Linked DNA regions of Homo sapiens: region 1 is linked to region 2. Evidence: promoter capture Hi-C in human tissues and cell types (Jung and others, 2019). All regions are on one chromosome and are shown on one strand. The core of a region is centred on a gene start or on the middle of the fragment in contact, and the rest is flanking DNA. Distances in the headings are between cores, read along the strand shown. Region 1 overlaps CPEB4 (cytoplasmic polyadenylation element binding protein 4). Region 2 holds the start of STC2 (stanniocalcin 2).

What was found. Contacts are between HindIII fragments. The study calls those that stand out against the background at their distance.
Region 1: a fragment that was not itself captured here is called in contact with the fragment with the promoter of STC2 in region 2 in 1 of the 25 tissues and cell types used here (dorsolateral prefrontal cortex).

What each region holds. Positions count from the first base shown.
Region 1 is chr5:173,894,657-173,899,053 of GRCh38, reverse strand. The region is part of intron 1 of CPEB4 (cytoplasmic polyadenylation element binding protein 4); the gene reads right to left. Among named protein-coding and RNA genes, the nearest start is that of CPEB4, 8.5 kb to the right of the region's middle. The HindIII fragment of the contact is 4,022 bases long and covers 1-4,011 here.
Region 2 is chr5:173,327,100-173,330,894 of GRCh38, reverse strand. It overlaps STC2 (stanniocalcin 2), which reads left to right and starts at 2,481. Exons shown (of 4, transcript NM_003714.3): 1 at 2,481-2,852. The coding sequence starts at 2,702. LOC124901137 (a long non-coding RNA gene) reads right to left here and starts at 2,296. Exons shown (of 2, transcript XR_007059056.1): 1 at 1,144-2,296. RefSeq lists a silencer at 1,068-1,287. The HindIII fragment of the contact is 8,569 bases long and covers 1-3,795 here.

The DNA.
Region 1 (4,397 bases), core at 751-3,250, 570 kb before region 2:
AATCAGTGTGTCATCTAGCCTCAGTCCCACCATTATTTAAGTATAGTGACTTTAGGAATTGTATTTTATTTATTTAAAATTAAGTTCAGGCCAGGTGCGGTGGCTCACGCCTATAATCCCAGCACTTCCGGAGGCCAAAGCGAGCGGATCACCTGAGGTCAAGAGTTCGAGACCAGCCTGGCCAACATGGTGAACTAAAAGGTACAAAAATTAGATGGGCCTGGTGGCACATGCCTGTAGTCCCAGCTACTGGAGAGGCTGAGGCACGAGAATTGCTTAAACCCAGGAGGTGGTGGTTGCTGTGAACCAAGATCGCGCTACTGCACTCTAGTCTGGGCAACAGAATGAGACCTTGTCTCAAAAAATAAAATTAAGTTCAAATTATCACACACCAGTTACACACGGGTTTTCAGATTTTAAGAAATTGTGCTATATTTTGAATAAAACTTTGACTTAATATTTCTGTTTGATGAGTTGCTTTCTTAAAACAATAGAATCTTCTAGAAGCCAAATATTAGACATATTTCATTTTATCCTCAAAAATACCAGACAAAAGAAATGAGAAAATAAAGGACCCAGAAGGTGCTGTAGCTTGCCTAGGTCACATAGCTAATGAATGGCCGAGCCATATCTGGAACCCAGATCTGACTTCCATTAACTGAGATAGTTTTCTAATAACATTTTTTCAGAGTATGTGAATATTCTGAGTCACGTTCTTATATTTTTATTTTTTTAAGGTCTCATAGACAATAAAATGGCAGCAACTATTTTACTGACTAGTACCATGATCCTATTGACTAGATGCATTCCTCAAGAATACCTGGAAGAACTATTATTTAAATTGTTACATGGTATTTTAAAATAAATATAGATTTAAAATATATAATACTGAGGAACTAATTATAACTTAGTTTTGGTCTACTAAAAAATGATTAGAATATATCTGATAAATCTTTAGCAAATAGAAATTGCCCAACCAAAATAACCTACAATATAAAATGCGCTTGTACAGCTTAAAGCTTTGAACTTGAATAATTCCATTTGTAAACATGAATGAGCACCTATAGGTAGCTGATGGAGTTTTTCTTTGGCATGTAACAGGACCAGAATTCTGCTATCCAAGTTAAAGTTTGCCTTTTGTGGTACCATTTTGTCATAGAATGTAAATCAGCACATGTTATATATAAACATACGGTAACTTATACGAGTGTGTATTTATAATTGATAATTACACTTTCCAAATATTTTTCCAAAAACATTATAATTTTCTAAAAATTTAAAATTTCCAAATATAAGCATATATTTATAAACACATTAATGACTACGTTAATAAAAAAGTTTGGAAATGCCATTTATACAATTTTTTGTTATAGCTAAAATTGAATGTTAGTTTGCCTTAATGATTAAACAATTTATAGATTAAAATGAAACTATTGGGCTAGTTGATAATTTGTTTATAATATTTAAGAGAAAAAAATGCATGTTCAGTCTTACTCAAAGATTAGCACAGGTCAAAAATACATTACAAACCATGTTACTGATTCATTTTTTATGACAGTCCTGTGCTTAGTCCATAACATAGTAGGTGCTCCAATAAATGTGTGCTAAATACATTAAAATATTTTTTAAAAACTCTTGATTCCAGGATAAAAGCCAAACTATTCTCAATTCAAATCTATGGCACCCTTTCATATCTCTTACTGAAAAATCATAAATTCTCCATTAAAATGTAGTCTCCTTTAATGTATGCAAAAGCAATCACATGTTCTAAAGTTCTTAATAAAACAACTGTGGCCAAAATCTTTCAAAATCCTGAAAGAAACAGGCTGTCAATGCTAATGAAAGTTTAAGCTTATATTTAATTAGAAAACTTCTCTTCGAGAAAATTGATAATTCTGCTAAATATTTTATCTGTCTGGGGTTGCATCTATAGCTTATTCAATAAAGCATATATAGCAAGATAAGCATGACTAAAATATTTCACAGTAACACAAGCTATATTTGTAACTAATTTCATAACTTTATTCAATATAAGAAAGCCATATTTTAAATTTAAAAAGTTAATCAACCTAATATGGCCACATACATAAGGTGCCTCACATTACCCTTCACTGTTAGGTATTATCATATTTTAGAAAAAGTGTTTTGTATTTTTTCTAGAGATGGGGTCTGACCATGTTGCCCAGGCCTGGTCTCAAATTCCTGGGCTCAAGTGATCCGTCCACCTCGGCCTCCCAAAGTACTAGGATCACAGGTGTGACCCACCATGCCCGGCCAGTTATTATTTTCTTGATACGGTATTTTCTTCTGGAATTTAAAAGATTTACTCAAGGTCACACTGCTCATTAGAGTTTAGAGACAAAATTTTTAAAGCTTTATATATGCATTTTATTTATTTTTACAACAGCTTCATATAGTAAATAATTACATTCAAATTCAGAGTCAAACTTAAGTCTGAGTCCACAGCCTATGCTTCACTCTACATTTTTGGGCTCACAAAATAGCCTTTCTCAATAATTGTTCACTTTTCACCTTCAGAAACTGATTGAAAATAGTATCAACAACTTTATCTTTCTATCTACTAAGTATTTTTTGAAAACTTAAAGGTGGAACTCATTCTGTTTCAATAAGATAAAATGCGGTGAGAAAAAATGGATGGGAATCTCCAATAAATTTGAATTTTAAAAAATATATTGCTCTAAATTTATCATGGTAAAACATACTTTTAATTTCTGCAAGGCAACTTTGAACAATTAAACATAAAATAAAATGAATTTTGTCACAAAAAGTTAAAATGCTCACATTATAGGCTCTCTGCCTTAAAGAGAAGCACATTATTCACATTATCTTATGTGAGATGAGACCAAAAACTGAGGTACAATACAGCGCTGAAAAAATATGACAGCGAATTATCAAGCTTATTTTCCTCCTAGCAAAATAGAGAAAGTCATAAGGAAAATAAACTGAAACTGTCAAATTCAAACCTAGGCATATGTTAATTTAAAAACTAGGTTCCCCATTTCTTTCTTATGAACACCAACAACGATGACTTTCAAAAACTTAAACTCATGAGCTAAGTAGCATCTTTCTAGTTGCAACCAGCAACAACCACATTTATTAGGCTTGCGATAAACAGGTTTTTCCTGAAAGGTGTTGGAACAATGTGCTGATCATATTCCATGGCTTCTCTGAAGATGGCTTCTCTGAAGATAGAAAAAGAAAAAGAAAAAAACTCTACCCTGGAATTAGTTTTAATTTCATCAGAAAAGCTATCTAACCTAGTTAAAAAGCCTTCTACAAAGAGGAAGATTTTTCCAATATGTCAGTTCTGCTAGATCTAGAACCATCCGACCCACAATTTACAGTTGAAAAAACTGATTTCTCCCCTTCTAAGTCAAAGAAAATGTTTCCTATGCAAAGATCCTTCTTGGAACGATACTGTATTAAGAAACAAGAAAATGTAATGAGGTTGCCTATTAGACAATTTTAATAATCCACCATGACTTTTAGAACTGAAGCACTCCAGCAGTGTTCTGTTTGCAAATATAAGATGCAGTATATAATTTTGAGGATCTAGACACTTGTTTCCCTATCAAACAAGTTTTAGGATAGTCTTTGTGACATACTGATTTTGTCTTTTTCCTTCCTACCTGACTCTTAGCTAATGAAAGCGGCAACATAATTGAGCTGTAGTTAAGAGGGTGTCAGCACATATACTAAGTAATTCTCCTTTACTTTCCTGTAAGGATAGAAGATCCAGGCACCCCTCCAAAGAAATGCTATACTCAAATATAATTATTGGCAGGTGCCCCAATATATTATCTGCTTTGGATGTCAGAATTCTAAGATATGTTTGGTAAGACAGGATTTTTTTTTTCCTTACTGTAAGGGTCCAATCATGCCTGTAGTCACATGAATATGGACCTTCATTTTGAAATTGGGACAATAAAACCAAATGTCACAGGGCTGAGAAATCCCACATAGGAAGTGAAATAACATATTTGAAAGCACCTAGCCCAGTGCCTGGTATATAACATGTGCTCAAAATTTAAAACAAAAGCATTGACCAAAATATTATCTAAGTTTAACATTTAAAGTTGATAAACAAGTATACTCAATTATTTTCCCCTTTCAATACTCTATCTACAATCAGCCTTTGATCATCATGTATCACTGTAAAATTTTTTCCTCTCATCTTACATGCGTCTGGGAGGCACTCTCCCTTCCAGCCCCACCTGCACCCACTATCCCCCTGCCATATTATCATTATGTGAAGAGGCACTGTAGTATAATGATTAAGAGCCAAATCTTGTCTGTGAATAAAAATAATAATAATTTCTGCTTCATAGGATTGTTGAGTGAATTAAATGAATCAATACATGTAAAACATTTAGAAC
Region 2 (3,795 bases), core at 1,232-3,731:
GTTCTAAAGGGGCAGTTGGCTCAGGTGAAAACCAGGAATGTCCCTTGGAAGGCAGGAGCAAACAGCCTCAGGACGAACTTTGAAACTATGTAGGTCCTCTGAGGGCAGCCCCAGGGGCCCCATGGTAGCAAAAGGTAGGCCTAGCCAAAGGCTGGGCAAAGCAGGAGCAGGGAGAGCTCCATCCCCCTGGCCATCGCTCCAGGTATCCTGGGAGGCCTCTGCCCAGCACACTAAGTGTCTGCATCTGGCAAAAGAGGGCTTGCTCCTGCCCCATGGAGCTCTCTCCTATTTCTGCTTCTCAAAAAAAAACAGGTGACCAGATGCCTTCTTAATGTCAATATTGCTCATGTTCTCTCCTACAAAAGAGGCCACATAGAAAGAAAGTCTACCCAGCTGTACCCATAAGCAGGAGTGGGACCAAATGGCTACTTGTTCTCAGGAAATTCAGAGCCTTAAAGAGTTAGTTAGGAGAGGCCAGAATGCCGCTGTGTCGTTTGTTTGCTTTGTTTTTAAGGATCTACAGGAGGTAGTTTTCCATAAACTAGGAAGCTAAGTTAACTATGCAAACACAAGCAGGGTGGGCAATGTGAACTGGCCGTTTTAATGTATTTGTACCCGCACGTCCTTGCACAAAAGATCCAAGGCTGCGCGGAGTAATTGCTATTAGAATAGTGGGCATGGTCCCTACCGCCGCAGGTTCGGACCTTCAAAGTGACAATTTATGGATGCTCCCTGGCGCTCCAGCGCAGGGGAAGCCCACTCTGAAGACGCCCTCCCCACCCCCTCCTCTCCTTCCTTCCGACTCAGGAGAGCTCGACACGCCGGATAGCTGCGGCCAGCCGTGGCCATCCTGGCCCCCCGCCTCCGCCTTCCCCACTCCCGCGTGCAGCCGGGACACGGGAAAGGAAAGCTTTGGAAGTCAAGCGCCGGCCAAAAGATGACCTGCCCGCGTGTCTCCTCGCCCCCTCCCCCAGCCGTGTCACATGGCGGCCCCAACCAGGCGGGCAGTGCGCCCCGCCGCGGAGACCCAGGGCCGCGTCGCCTGGGCAGTGGGTGATGAAACTTCCCAGGCGCATTACCGCAGAGGGCGCGGGCGGGGCGCGGGGCGGGGGTGGGGGATCGAGAGCTGGTACCGGGGCTCACCTGTTCTCCAGGAGGAGGGTGGGGACGGGGGGAGGGGCGAGTGCGCGCCAACGCCGGGTGCGTGCCCTGGGGCGCTTGGGCGCGGCGCTCGTGTCCCCGCCCTCCCCCAGCCCTGCGAGCCCCCCGAGCTGCGCCGTGGGGTGACGGGACCGAGAGCAGTTCCTGTCCCCGGCCCCGGCGCGGGGGAGACGTGAGCGTGCACACGTACACACACAGCAGGGGAAGAGGCGCTCCAAGCGGCGCCCAACTTTCTCCTTCCCTCCACGGGCCGGGTGAGAAAGTAGCCGGGGGCTATCCCGACCCGGCGGTTCTTGGGGAGGGGGCCGAACAAGAAAAGGGAGGAGATGGAGATAACTTCCCCGGATTTAGCTTTTTTGTCTTTGTTTTTGTTCTCACCACTTCCATCGGATGACTGGAGAGTAAAAGGGAACCCGGAGCGGGGTGGCGAGCAGCGCTTTGAGAAAATGCAGGAGTGTGTTTGGAGACGCGTAAAGTTGCCTTTCAAGCTCTGGCCTCCGGGCACGCGATGCTCCGCGGCGGGCTGACTCAGGGCTGCCTTGGGCCTCCCTGCCACCCTCCTGGAAATGATGCAAGTCCTGACTGTCACCTGGATCCCTGCAGCCCAGCCTGGAATGCGTCTGGATTAGGGGAAAGACGAGAAACGACACTCCAGGTGTTGCACGGCCCACCAAAGCGGGAAGATAGGGCAGTTGCTCAGACCAAATACTGTATCTAGTGCTTCTGCTCCTATCTTCAATCGTGGGGTTCTTTTTAATGCAAAGTGTCACAAGGCCAGGAATTCCCATGTGTGCTCAGTTGGCCCACAGCATCATTGTGCCTAGGAAACTGCTTCAATTTATCAAGTCCTCTGGGCTGGGAATCTCACTGAATTCCAAACGGCGGAAAGAGGAAACTTTCCCAACCCGATGTGGGTGTGACGCGAGCCAGGGGCCCCAGGGACACTGTCCCAGAGCACACCGTCCCCCTTTAACAGCAACTGGAGCTTGGATTCGCTCTTATATTGTACAGTCCTTTCGACCATTGCCCTGGAGCACCCGCACACGCGCACGCATCTCCGGCCGCGCTCACACACACTCATACACACGCACGCAAACGCGTGGCCGCCGCCAGGTCGGCAACTTTGTCCGGCGCTCCCAGCGGCGCTCGGCTTCCTCCTGTAGTAGTTGAGCGCAGGCCCCGCCTCCCGGCCGTGTTGTCAAAAGGGCCGGGGTCTCGGATTGGTCCAGCCGCCGGGACAACACCTGCTCGACTCCTTCATTCAAGTGACACCAGAGCTTCCAGGGATATTTGAGGCACCATCCCTGCCATTGCCGGGCACTCGCGGCGCTGCTAACGGCCTGGTCACATGCTCTCCGGAGAGCTACGGGAGGGCGCTGGGTAACCTCTATCCGAGCCGCGGCCGCGAGGAGGAGGGAAAAGGCGAGCAAAAAGGAAGAGTGGGAGGAGGAGGGGAAGCGGCGAAGGAGGAAGAGGAGGAGGAGGAAGAGGGGAGCACAAAGGATCCAGGTCTCCCGACGGGAGGTTAATACCAAGAACCATGTGTGCCGAGCGGCTGGGCCAGTTCATGACCCTGGCTTTGGTGTTGGCCACCTTTGACCCGGCGCGGGGGACCGACGCCACCAACCCACCCGAGGGTCCCCAAGACAGGAGCTCCCAGCAGAAAGGCCGCCTGTCCCTGCAGAATACAGGTAAGTGCATGTGCCCCCGCAGCCGGGAGCTACTGGGAGAGGACACCGTGCACCCACGCGGCGCGCCCCAGGCGTTTCGCCGGGAGCCAGGCGCCCACCCAGGGCCACGCAAACTCTTGGGATGGCACGGGACGTGCAAAGGGAAGCGCGAGGCAAGGCGAGGTCCGCGCCGGGCTCCGAGGGCCCGGAATCTGCACGTGCTAGCAGGGTGATGAAATGGCTGGGGCAGGACTTGTTGCTGTCCTCCCCAGGGTCGAGGGGAAATGAAGCAGCGTCTGACGCTGCCAGCGCCAGCCCCCGCCCCCGAATCCCGGGTCCGGTGCAAAGCGCGCTTCATCCCGGCCGGCACGCGGGAGGCCCAGAGGGTCCCCGGAGCTGGGCTGCGCCCTGCGCCCGGAGAACTTCTCTTCCTGGCCTGCCGGCCTCAGTAAGGGTGCCGCGTCTTCCCCCTCCTCAAAAGATGCCCGACATCCCAGAACTTTGCCGGCGAGACAAATGGCATTGCGAACTTTCCCCCTGGGGGCACTGCTTTCGGAAGGGAGCGTGAGGGCAGCGCAAAGCGTACCTCCGCGGTGCTGCCGCCATCCCCAGCTCCTGGCCAGGTCAGCAAGCCAAGAAATGGTGACACGACCCGAACCGTGCGCCTCCTCTGCTCTACCGGCTCTTGGCTCACCGGCAAGCTGCAAAGCAGAGCCAGGCGTGCAGGGCACGGGGCTGGCCCTTTTCCCAGCTCGGAAAGAGAAAGAAAATCTGCCTACAGCTCCTTCGCTCCACGACCCCTCCCCCGACTTTGGGGGGCCGTGTGAACGCGGCAGCGGCGGCGTGCGTGCGCTCACCGCACGAGCTGGAATGCACGAGTGCCCATTAGGGACGCCCCAAGTGAGTGAATGGCGGCCCTGTGCGGTCCTGCCCCGGCGGCGCGTGGGGTCTTACGGATCCTGTC